2 separate regions of the Homo sapiens genome follow, and region 1 is linked to region 2. Evidence: promoter capture Hi-C in 16 types of primary human blood cells and fetal thymus (Javierre and others, 2016). All regions are on one chromosome and are shown on one strand. The core of a region is centred on a gene start or on the middle of the fragment in contact, and the rest is flanking DNA. Distances in the headings are between cores, read along the strand shown. Region 1 holds the start of LMAN2 (lectin, mannose binding 2). Region 2 holds the start of PRR7 (proline rich 7, synaptic).

Evidence for each region. Contacts are between HindIII fragments. The CHiCAGO score rates a contact against its expected background, and 5 or more counts as called.
Region 1: a contact is called between the fragment with the promoter of LMAN2 here and the fragment with the promoter of PRR7 in region 2, in 1 of 17 cell types (non-activated CD4 T cells). The highest score is 7.7, in non-activated CD4 T cells.

What each region holds. Positions count from the first base shown.
Region 1 is chr5:177,350,034-177,355,200 of GRCh38, forward strand. LMAN2 (lectin, mannose binding 2) reads right to left here and starts at 1,635. Exons shown (of 8, transcript NM_006816.3): 1 at 1,419-1,635; 2 at 1,140-1,258. The coding sequence starts at 1,614. RefSeq lists enhancers at 1,576-1,765, 1,776-1,825 and a silencer at 1,720-1,934. The HindIII fragment of the contact is 10,936 bases long and covers 1-5,167 here.
Region 2 is chr5:177,444,835-177,450,379 of GRCh38, forward strand. It overlaps PRR7 (proline rich 7, synaptic), which reads left to right and starts at 1,980. Exons shown (of 4, transcript NM_030567.5): 1 at 1,980-2,126. It overlaps PRR7-AS1 (PRR7 antisense RNA 1), which reads right to left and starts at 3,110. Exons shown (of 3, transcript NR_038916.1): 1 at 2,810-3,110. RefSeq lists a silencer at 1,605-2,694 and enhancers at 2,637-3,265, 4,303-4,803, 4,804-5,304. The HindIII fragment of the contact is 1,481 bases long and covers 1,345-2,825 here.

The DNA of each region.
Region 1 (5,167 bases), core at 385-2,884, 95 kb before region 2:
GTGCAGACATAATGCATGCTTACCCCTTCACAGGGGACTCCACGCTCTGAGGATCAGACTGAAAGCTGAAGAAAGTATCCGCAGATGCCACTAACAGCAGTGTGGAGGCTCGGGGCAGGAAGGAGAGGAGGAGCAGAGGGGACGGGCAGACCAGGCAACACAAGGACAGTGTGGGTTCCCAGAACTAAACAAGAAAGTCAACCAGCAGGGATCAGAGAGCAGGGTGATGGAGAAAACTAGAACACTGGCCAACAGCTTAAGCCATGGGAAGGGCTGAGATTAGGCAAGCTGGGGCAGGAGCAGGTCCCGCTCCAAGCTGTAACCCAGCCCCAAATTATTCTTCTTTCCCCTTTTTCCTCACCTTGACTGCCTCAGTGTGGATTCTGTGTAGCAGCTGTCATTGGCCACTGCTCACATACTACATACTACATACTCTGAGGCAAAGGTCACAGACACTAGAACTGCCCACAGGTCCAGTCCCTCCACACTACTGATGACAAGACCCTCAACCAAGCATTGCAAAAAGGGTTCTAAGGGGTTCCTCCACTGTCCAGGTGAAAAGAGTCAAGTACATCGAGTGAACTGCTGGGCTTAGAGATCAGACAAATCAGAGTTTAAATACTGTTTATGACATTTGCTAGCTGGGTTATCTTTGTATAGTCATGAAAGCCATCTATTTCAAACAGCTTGTTTGAAAATTAAATGCAATAAGGCATGGCAAGGTCAGTGCCTAATACACAGCAAAACACCCAATAAAGATCCAGTTCGCTCGGTTCTTCCCATTACTGAGGGGGTTCAAGGCAGACAGCCTGACAGTTCCACTACTTTCTGGCTATGTAACTTTGGGTAAGGCCCTTTCAAACCTGAGTCTTAGCTTCTCAGTGGGTAAAATGGAGATAACATTACTCATCTCGCATGGCTTTTAAAGTGAGGAGGATGTAAAGTGTCAAGCGCAGCTCCTGACACATAGTAAGTACCCAATACCCATCGCCTCTTATTATTGGTGGGTGTGACCGAGATGAGGAAAAGGCCAGGGACGGAGGTGCAAACCTATAAACGAAGCTGGGGTCTCAGCTGCTCGGGAGGCAGGGACTAGCAGCCAACCGCACAGTACGCCTATCCTCTTGAGAACCACTCACCTGGTGGTTCCAGATAGAGCCCTCTTTGCTGCGCTCGTCAGGGGTCAGACGTACGTACTGGCTCGTGAGCATAGTGCTGCCCTGGAAGTCCCAGAGGGGCATAGAGCTGGAACCGACCCCTGTGGGAAGAGACAGGTGCTAAGAGGCCACGCCAGGACTGGCCTCACCAGAGGCAGGAAACCCACAGAGATGCTCTGCTCAGGAGAAAGGGCACGCCTTCCCCTAGCCCTGTTCAGCCTCGCCCTCACTCTTCACTCATTCCCGCCCCAAGGGCTTCACCTTGGTAGGGCTTAATGAGCGAATGCTCCCGCTTGAGATGTTCACTGTTGCCGTCAGTTATATCCGCAGTCACAGACCCCAACAACAAAAGAAGAAAGAGAGGTGTAGTGGGGCCAGGGCCGGGGCCGAGAAGCCCAGGCCTTCCCAGGCACCGCCGGCCCCAGCCCCAACGCCAAATCCAGCCTTCCGCCGCCATTCTCCTCTCCTCTCGGCCACTTCCGCCCTAGAACTTCCGCCTTCCGGGGGTCCCATCTATTGGCCTCCGGCCGGAAGCTCTTCAACTTTACTGTCGCCAGGGAGTCAAAAAGCAAAGCCTCCGCAGCAGACGGGGCGGCAGCTGCATTGGCCGGGCAGCCTCTCATCCTGGTTGAGTGCAGTTTCATCTCCTTAGAGGCTCCAAGGCACACGCCGGCCAGCCCCAGCAATGGGTTCTTTCGAGCGACAAGAGCTGTAACCAGTCACGGAACAGCACGTTAGGCTTGCGAGCCAATGAGGAGCAGAGGGATGGTTGGAGCCGGCGGGAGCGCGAGGGCCGTCCGCGACTCGGGGCATGCTGGAATTTGTAGTTTTTGTCGGTCGCTCTAATGGGGCGGATTCGCGAAGACTAGGACGTCTTGGGCTTCTGGCCGCAAGTCCCGTCTCTGGAATAACCTTTTCTAGTCCTGGAGAAAGGAGCTCTGAATTGAAGGCGGAGTCCTGCATTCCAACCCTTGTCCTCCCCGGGTGGCCCTGGGCAAGCCTTTAAGCCGTGCCTGCCGTCAGGCGCCCCAGCTTCGCGCCTTTGGAGACTCAGAATTCCCAATTATTTGAGGGCCTCCACTACCCTCAACTCCTCAGGCCTAGTCGGGTTGAAGCAAGAGGAACAGACACAGATCCTGGCCTGGGACCCCAGTGATGACTGGAACTCATCCCTATGCAAAAGAGCGCAGTGCCTGGTACAGCAAGTAACGTCCATGGAAGGCCCAGGAAAGCTGTGAATCAGAGGTCGAAAACTGGTGGCCTGCAGCTGAATAGAGCTCTGTTTTACCTGCCAATATTCTAATAAATGGCTTAACTACCAGTATTTTAAAGTCAGAATATAGAGGCTGGGCGTGGTGGCTCACGCCTGTAATCCCAGCACTTTGGGAGGCTGAGGCCGGCGGATCACGAGATCGGGAGATCGAGACCATCCTGGCTAGCACGGTGAAACCCCGTCTCTACTAAAAAATACAAAAAATTAGCCGGGCGTGGTGGCAGGTGTCTGTAGTCCCAGCTACTCGGGAGGCTGAGCCAGGAGAATGGCTTGAACCCAGGAGGCAGAGCTTGCAGTGAGCCGAAATCGCGTCACTGCACTCCAGCCTGGGCGACAGAGCGAGACTCTGTCACACACACACACACACACACACACACACACACACACACACACAAAGTCGGAATATGTACATTCACATCAGAAATCCAGACTTCCGGCTGAGCTCAGTGGCTGAGGCCTGTAATCCTAGCACTTTGGGAGGCAGAGGCGAGCAGATTACCTGAGCTCAGGAGTTTCAGACCAGCCTGGGCAACACGGTGAAACCCCGTCTCTACTAAAATACAAAAGAAATTAACGGCGTGGTGGCGGACACCTGTAGTCCCAGCTACTCGGGAGGCTGAGGCAGGAGAATTGCTTGAACCCAGGAGGCAGAGGTTGCAGTGAGCAGAGATCACGCCATTGCATTCCAGCCGGGGCGACAGAGCAAGACTCTGTCTCTACAAAAAAAAAAAAAAAGAAGAAGAAGAAGAAGAAAAGAAATCCAGACTTCCGTTTTTTTACCCAAAAAAAAAAAAAAAGAAGCAGCAGCAAAAGATCTAGGCACACATTCCCACAACAGAACAATAGGCTGGAGCTGAATGGGACTGCCCCTCCACCAATGCCTTCCTCTTCTAAGCTGGTCCCCACCTGGTCACTCGTTTACAGCACTTGCCTGGCTCCTCCAGACATTTGAATCAATGACTCCTGTTGTAGATCACAGGGAGGGATGTTGGTTGCTTGCTCCTTTTAGAAACTGCCCTCTTGAATGAATGGACTTATTCAGGATTGAGTGCTGAATCTTTTCTTGGTCATATATTTTTCGTTCGCTTTTTTATTATTAAAGTCACACATTCTGGTCAGGCACGGTGGCTCACACCTGTAATCCCAGTAGTTTGGGAGGCCGAGGTGGGTGGATCACTTGAGGCTAGGAGTTCGAGACCAGCCTGGCCAACATAGCGAAACCCTGTCTCTACAAAAAATTAGCTGGGTGTGGTGGTGCACACTTGTAATCCCAGCTACTCAGGAGGCTGAGGCACGAGCATCACTTGCACCTGGGAGGTGGAGGTTGCAGTGAGCCAAGATCTTGCCACTGCACTCCAGCCTGAGTGACAGAGTGAGACTCTGTCTCAAAAAAGTCACACATTCTTGTGGTGTGTATGGAAACAGAGAGAGAACAGACATACAAGACACAACAAGCCAGGCATGGTGGCTCACACCTGTAATCCCAGCACTTTGGGAGGCCAAGGCAGGTGGATCACTTGAGGTCAGGAGTTCGAGACTACCCTGGCCAACATTGTGAAACCCTGTTTCTACTAAAAATACAAAAAATTAGCCGGCCATGGTGGCGGGTACCTATAATCCCAGCTACTCAGGAGGCTGAGGCAGGAGAATCACTCGAACCCAGGAAGCGGAGGTTGCAGTGAGCCAAAATTGTGCCATTGCACTCCAGCCTGGGCAACAAGAGTGAAACTCCATCTCAAAAAAAGAAAAGAAAAGAAAAGAAAAGACACAACAAAAGTCTTCTGCCACTCCCCTCGCAAGGAGTGTCCCCTTCCAGAGATTTATCTGCACCCATACAAACAAAAACATGCACATTCCATGGGACCTTCATGGGGCTGGGATTTTTGTCAGCTATGGTCACTACTGAATCCCTGGCATCTAGAATAGTGCTTGTCACATAGGAGGTGATTAATAAGTAACTGGTGAAAGAATGAATATTTGTTCTAGAACCTGGAATTGGGTCATGAAGAATGAGTAGGAGTTTTCCGGGAAAGGTAAAGGCATTCTCAGCAGAGAGAAGAGGAGCTGCAATCTAGGGAGGGATGTGTGAGAGCAGATGAAATACAAGTAGTTTGGAATGGCTGAGAAGTTGGAGTTGGGGGCTGCGGGGGAGCTGAAGCCAAAACTCAAAGGGCCTTCAATTCCCAAGTAAGGAACATGGCCTTTTCCCAGAACTCAATGGGATATTTCTAAGCATGGGAGTGACCAATGTGGATTCCTCTAGCTATGGTGAGGAGAAGAGATTGGAGCGGGGATAATAGGGAGACTGGATTCATCATGATCGGGGGAGAGAGGGTGAGGCCTAAGCCAAGGAGGTCTTCACAGAGAAGAAGGATCTGAAGTCCCAGCCAGAGACTAAATCAGGAACTGATGCCCTGTGGGCAGCCAGGAAGGGAGAAGTCGAGGATGGTGCTTTGTGGGTGGAGGTACTCCACCACTCTCATGGCATGGAGAAGACTAGATAAGGGCTAAGAGATGGGAACAGCCAGGGCTAGCTGTGGTGAAGATGTGGTCAGAGCTAGAACTGGCATCCATGGTGGAGAGAAGGGAAGAGGTGTCTCTGCAGGAGAGTATGAACTTCAAAGGGAGTCCCAGGCAGAGACTGTGACTGTCCTTTGGCAGGAAGAAGATGAGCTGTGGGCATCTGTGGTGGCCAAAGCCCAGTTCCAGGCACCCCAAGCACACTCACAGCTTAGCA
Region 2 (5,545 bases), core at 730-3,229:
TTGAAAGCTAGATTAAGGATCACAGGGTTAAGGCCCAGATGGGGCCTCATCTGGAAGGTAGGGGATTCCCTGAAGGGTTTTTACTGGTTGTGTTGGGGTGTTTGCTCCAGCATGTACAAAAGCACCCCCAGTCTCTGTCCATGTGGTTTAGACGGGGCTGGGCTTGCACCCCCTGCACACGCATACTCCACACACATACCTAGAGTGAGAGAGCCAGGTGGGAATGTTGCAAGTGACAGAACTGTCCTCCCGCTAACTTAGAAGGTGTTCCAAGGATATGGAGGAGCTTCGGGGTCTTAGTTGTGGGCTCCATTCTCATCAGGAGACACCCACCAGAACCAAGATGATAGAGCCATTTGGTTTTGCCTCTTTGAGCCCAGTTGCAAACTCAAGGAGTCTGAGTGGCCAGGCTGGATACCTGCCTGCTGTGCACTGTCAGGGAGCAGGGCACTTGGGTTCACAGTTTCACCAGGATGGCACCCGTGGGGCAGTGATTCCCCCATTGAAATCAGGGTGCCTGTATACAAAGAAAAGGGAGCGGGTACTGGGAGGCCATTCCCTTTGCATAAGGAGCACATATCCTCTCCCTTAACACACAGGCACTTAGATTGGTTCACTGATAGAGACTCAGCCCAAATGAGTCCAAAAAGAATCATTCATGGAGTTGTTTGCTTGTATTTTGCTCAAATGATGGGGAAGGAATTGGGGTTCCGTTTTCCTCCAGGGATAGATGGCAGGATATGAGCCTAGGGCTGTTGGGGTTGTCCTCGCTACTTCTTGGGGTGAGCTTGCCTGAGAGTGATGCAAACAGAAGCAGATACGTGCCTGACACCATTGCGGGAACACCTGGAAGCAACTGTGACCAAAGCTAGAATCTACCCTGGGACTTGCCAGTTGCATGAACCAGTCCCCTTTGAGCTCAAAGCTTTTTCTTTTCTTTCTCTTTTTCTTTCTTTTCTTTCTTTCCTTTCTTCTTTCTTTCTCTTTTATTTTTCTTTCTTTCTGTCCTTTCTCTTTCTTCTTTCTCTTTTTTTTTTTGAGACAGGGTCTCACCCCCTCCCTTAGGCTGGAGTGCGGTGGCGTGATCTCGGCTCACTGCAACCTCTGCCTCCCGGATTCAAGCGATTCTCCACAGGCGTGCAGATTTTTTTTTTTTTTTGGTAGAGACGGGGTACAGCTCAAACCTATTTGTTTGGGAGTTCTGTCACTTCAACCCCAAATGTTCCAGCTAATATGGTGGTGGAGGGGTTTTTGGCAAATCATCTTAAGTGCAGTAGAGAAGTTGGACGAAAAACAGCCCAGTTAAGAGGCCGATGGACAGCCAACTTCAGAGTGGCCTCTGCAAGCTTGGACCTCGGGGTAGACAGTGGGGCGCTCTCTAGGGGTCATCTGTTCCCTGCTGGGGTAGGGGGGAGGCATGTCCACGGAGGCCAGGGCTGTGGGTTCGGCACTAGGTCCTCCTCCCCGTGGCTTCCTAGTAGGCATGTGGTGGTGTACGCCTGCTGGGCACCTAGCGAGAGGGGTCGTGAGTTGGGAGGGAGCCACGTTGGGGTGCCTGCCTGCTCGGGGGCCCCTGCCCACTGCGTGTGCGCAGCGCCTGTCAGGATGTGACGGGGACCTGGACATGTGTGTGCTCTCCGAGCTGAGCTGTGTGCGCGTCCGGGTTCTCGACCTCAGCTGCCTGGCTGTGCATCCAGCGTGCACGACCGGTGTGGCCTGGGCTCCAGCCTGGAGTGTGGACCGGGTCGGCCGGCGTGTGCCTCCCCTGTGAGGGTGCCCTGGCGGGTGTGAGCCCGGCGGGCTGGAGAACCGGGTCTCGGCGCCGCAGGTGGGTGACCGTCCTCCCCCTCCTTCCCTCCGGGGGCAGCCTCCTCGCGGCGTGTGGCTGGGGGTGCGGGGCCCTCTGCCGGCTGCCGCGCGCGCGCACGCCGGGCTCAGCACCCGCCGTGTACGCGCCCGTGCGCGCGCCCCGCGCCTCCAGCCCAGCGCTCGGAGCCGCTTTCGCTGCCACTGTCTGCTCCCCCGGGCCGCCGCCGCCTCCCCCCGCAGGCCCGGGGCTCTGTCCGCTGGGCCCGCGCTGCTCGCCCCGAGCCAGGAGAACGAGCTCGAGGAGGATGCCTGGGCCCGTGAGTACCGCGGCGGCTGCGGGCCGGGCGGGCACGGAGCGCGGGCGGAAGATGGTCCCAGGACTGAGCCCTTCCCCGCGGGCGGCTCAGCGCCCTGGCCCCGGGTCGCCGCCCCGGTCCCCCGCCCGGGCCGCGAGCAGCCCCTCCCCCAGTCCACACCGGAGGGAGGGAGAGCGCCAGTGAGCGAGGGAGCCGGAACGGGGCGCGAGCCGCCACCAGTTCGCTTGGAAACGGTTGCCACAGCAACGGGGTTGCGCTCCCCGGCAACACGACTGCGGGGCGGCGACGCCCCCTCCCCCTCCCTCCCCCCTCCCCCGACGCGGGCCCACAGCCCGGGGGTGCAGGGGGAGAGGGGTGCGCGGCGGGGGCATGTCGCCCCTCTGGCCCGGCTGGGTGTGCCTGCCTCCACAGCCCGTCGAGGGTGGGGGTGGGGGCGAACGGCCGTGGGCACGAGCTGGCTCCCACGTGGCTGCAGTCGTCGCAGCAGGGCTCCTGGGGTGGCTGCAAACGTGGGGGCGGCCCAGCCCCTGGGCTTGTCACGGGAGGAGGAGGCATGGAGGCTGGCGCTGGGGTCTTTGCCCATAGACCCCCCACCCACCCACCCACCGCCGCCACCACCTAATCGCGCCGGCCCTGGACATGGCCTGAGCCGAGCTGGGTTCCCCAGGGGCGACGTTTCTTACCAGGGTAGAGGAGCGAAGCTTGCATCCCTCCTCCTCCTCACGGCCGAGGCACGTGCCAAACCGGGCATGGGCCCGCGGTGAGTCTCTGCTCCGTGTTCCTAGCCACCATTCTCCAGGGAGGGGTGGAAGCAGAGTGGGCAGGAGCAGAGGAAAGGATATTGCTGACCCAGGGAAGCTGAAGCCCAGGCCAAATGGGAGCGACCCAGCCCATTGTCTGGATCACAAGTGCCCCTTTCTTGTCTGAGCACAATGCCCCAACTGTACTGAGTAGCATGCAGGTTGGCCGGCAGGGAGGCACGCGCCACATGGAGGTGCCTGGTCCGCCAGGGGAGCTCCTCTGGGAGGAGAATGGCCTCTGACTCAGAGGAAATGACCTCTGGCTCCCCTCCCAACCTCCCCTCAGCGGGCATCATGCTGGAGAGAGAAATGGCCCTCCTGCCAGCTCTCCCAGGCCTGACTCAGCAGATGCCAGCCCCGACCGCGGGCTTCAGATCCAGGATCCCAGCGACCACAACCGTCCTTGGGTTTCCTTTCCCATCCGGGGAGGCATCCTAGAGGTGACTGGCATCTGGGGCATTGGAGGCCTTGGCATAAGATGCCCTTAGATGGGTGGTGCCCTGGAGGTCAGGCCTGAGTCTCCTGCAGGCAGGGGCGCCTGGGGAATTACTCACGGGTGCCTTTCATTCCCTTCCTGCTCTGTGAGACCTGTGTTGAGTGCTCTGCATCCATTATCTCCTAATTTTTTTTTACAACAGTTGCGCAAGGTAAGTTTATTATCCCCATTTTAGAGATGAAGACTCTAAAGGGAGGCTCAGGGAGGTGAGTGACTTGCCCAAGGTCACACTACCAGTAAGTGGCAGAGCTGAGTCTACACTGCAGGCTTCTCTGGGGGCAAAGCTCCTCTCTGCCTGCTAGCTAACTTCTCTTGTAACCCAGGAGAAGAACTGTAGAGCCTTCTTCCTTCACTTTCCTCCAGTGAGGACATTCCCTGTCTTTCGGGTCTTGGTACATTTTTCCTTCTTCCAGCTAAATCAGCCACATTCTTGCTCCCCCAGATGCATTATAGGATGGGGCCAGCTTTCTCCCTCCCTTCTTCACTTCCTCCCTCCCTCCATTTTCTCCGGTGAGACCAAGCAGCAAAGGGCTGCCTCAGTCCCCTGGGAAAACCCCAAGCCCTGGTCCTCGGCTCATGGGCTCCATGGCCTGCTCAGCTTGCAGTCTTGGCTGTGGGAGAGAAAATTTAGCAAAGATGGGTCCATGCACTGCTGCAGCCTGTGGGTGCTCAGTCTAGCTCCAGGCATTGGAAACCCACATGCTTCCAAGGATCAGGGGGGAAATGGAATGAGTGAGGCGGGCCAGGGAGCCGCTCAGCTCCAATCTTTGTCACTGTGTGAAATGTGGACTTGGTATGACCTGACTGTCCAATTTTCAAGATGAACCAGAAATCCAGACCTTTATATAAAATCTCCTGGATTTTTAAATGTTGGCAATTAATCAGAATGTTTTTAAAAATGGATTGTGAACATGGATTGTTTTTAAAACATGTCTGAGAACTGTGTCCAACCTAAGGGTCCTGTGTCTGAGACCTCTGGTCCGTGGGAAAGGGACCGCAGGTTTTGCTGGGCCGCCTCCAGGCTGTGTACACTGTGACACCAGGGGCTGCTTTCTGCATTTGAGCCTCTTGAGGCTGCAGGGTGATCCCTCATCAGAGGGAGTTCTGTTGTCCCCTCGGCACCCTGGTCCTACTGCTGAAGAAACTCCAGCTCAGGTATGGGAGTAGCCAGGATGGGATCACATGGCTCGGTGAGGGCAGAAGCCAGATTTGAGCTCAGGCCTACCCCTCGGCACTCTGCATGTTACCCAGGCTGCCCCCCACAGGGTGTCACCATCACGCCCGTGGGGCCGCCTCCCCTGGGAGGTCAGATCATTATTTCCATGCCAGCTGCGGGGATGAAGGCACAGAGAGCCACAGGCTGAGGTTTCAGAGGAGGAACCTGGTCTCTGAAAACCCTGCCCTGAGGAGGGCCGGAGCTGAGCGCAGTAGACACTGGCCTGAGGGAGGGCTCTCCACCTACAAGCCCACCGAGGCCTCAGTCTCTGTGGTCTTATTTGTAGTTTCCCAAGCCCTGGGTTCCTGGCTTGGTGTCAGGGTTAGGTCATCTACCTGCAAGCAAGGGTGCTTGCCACTCAGTACCCTGGCCTAGGCGGAGGGCGGTTCTGGCCAGCTCCAAGCCTGGCTGACTGGGAGTGGAGACAAGTCCTGTCAAGTCCTCTCTGGCCTCAGTTCCTCTGTGTTGATGTGGGAAGGGTGTAAGGGTGTCACCAGTGGCTCCCTGAAATGCCCTTGCTGCCGGGACCGAGGACTTTGTCATCACCCGGGCTTCACACCACCTGGCTATGGAGACCTGAGCTGGACCCACTCCTTGAGCCTACATCCTTGTCTGTAGAGAGAACAGCAGCCACCTCCTGAGTTTTCCTTAGATAACTAGCATAGAGACCAGTAGTGGGCCTGGCGTATGCAAGGCACACAGGACAGGCTGTCAGTCTGTCCTGCCCCCCAGCCCTCACCCCCTGCTCTGAGTTCCTGTCCCTTCCCTTGAAGACCAGCAGCTCTAGCCTCAAGTCCAGGTGTGACCCAGTGCCCCTGCTGCCCGGGATTTTCCATCCCCACCCCCCAGAGCCCTGGTGTGTGCCTCCGTACAGCCTTTTCCTTTGATTCACGTAGACACATGGGGT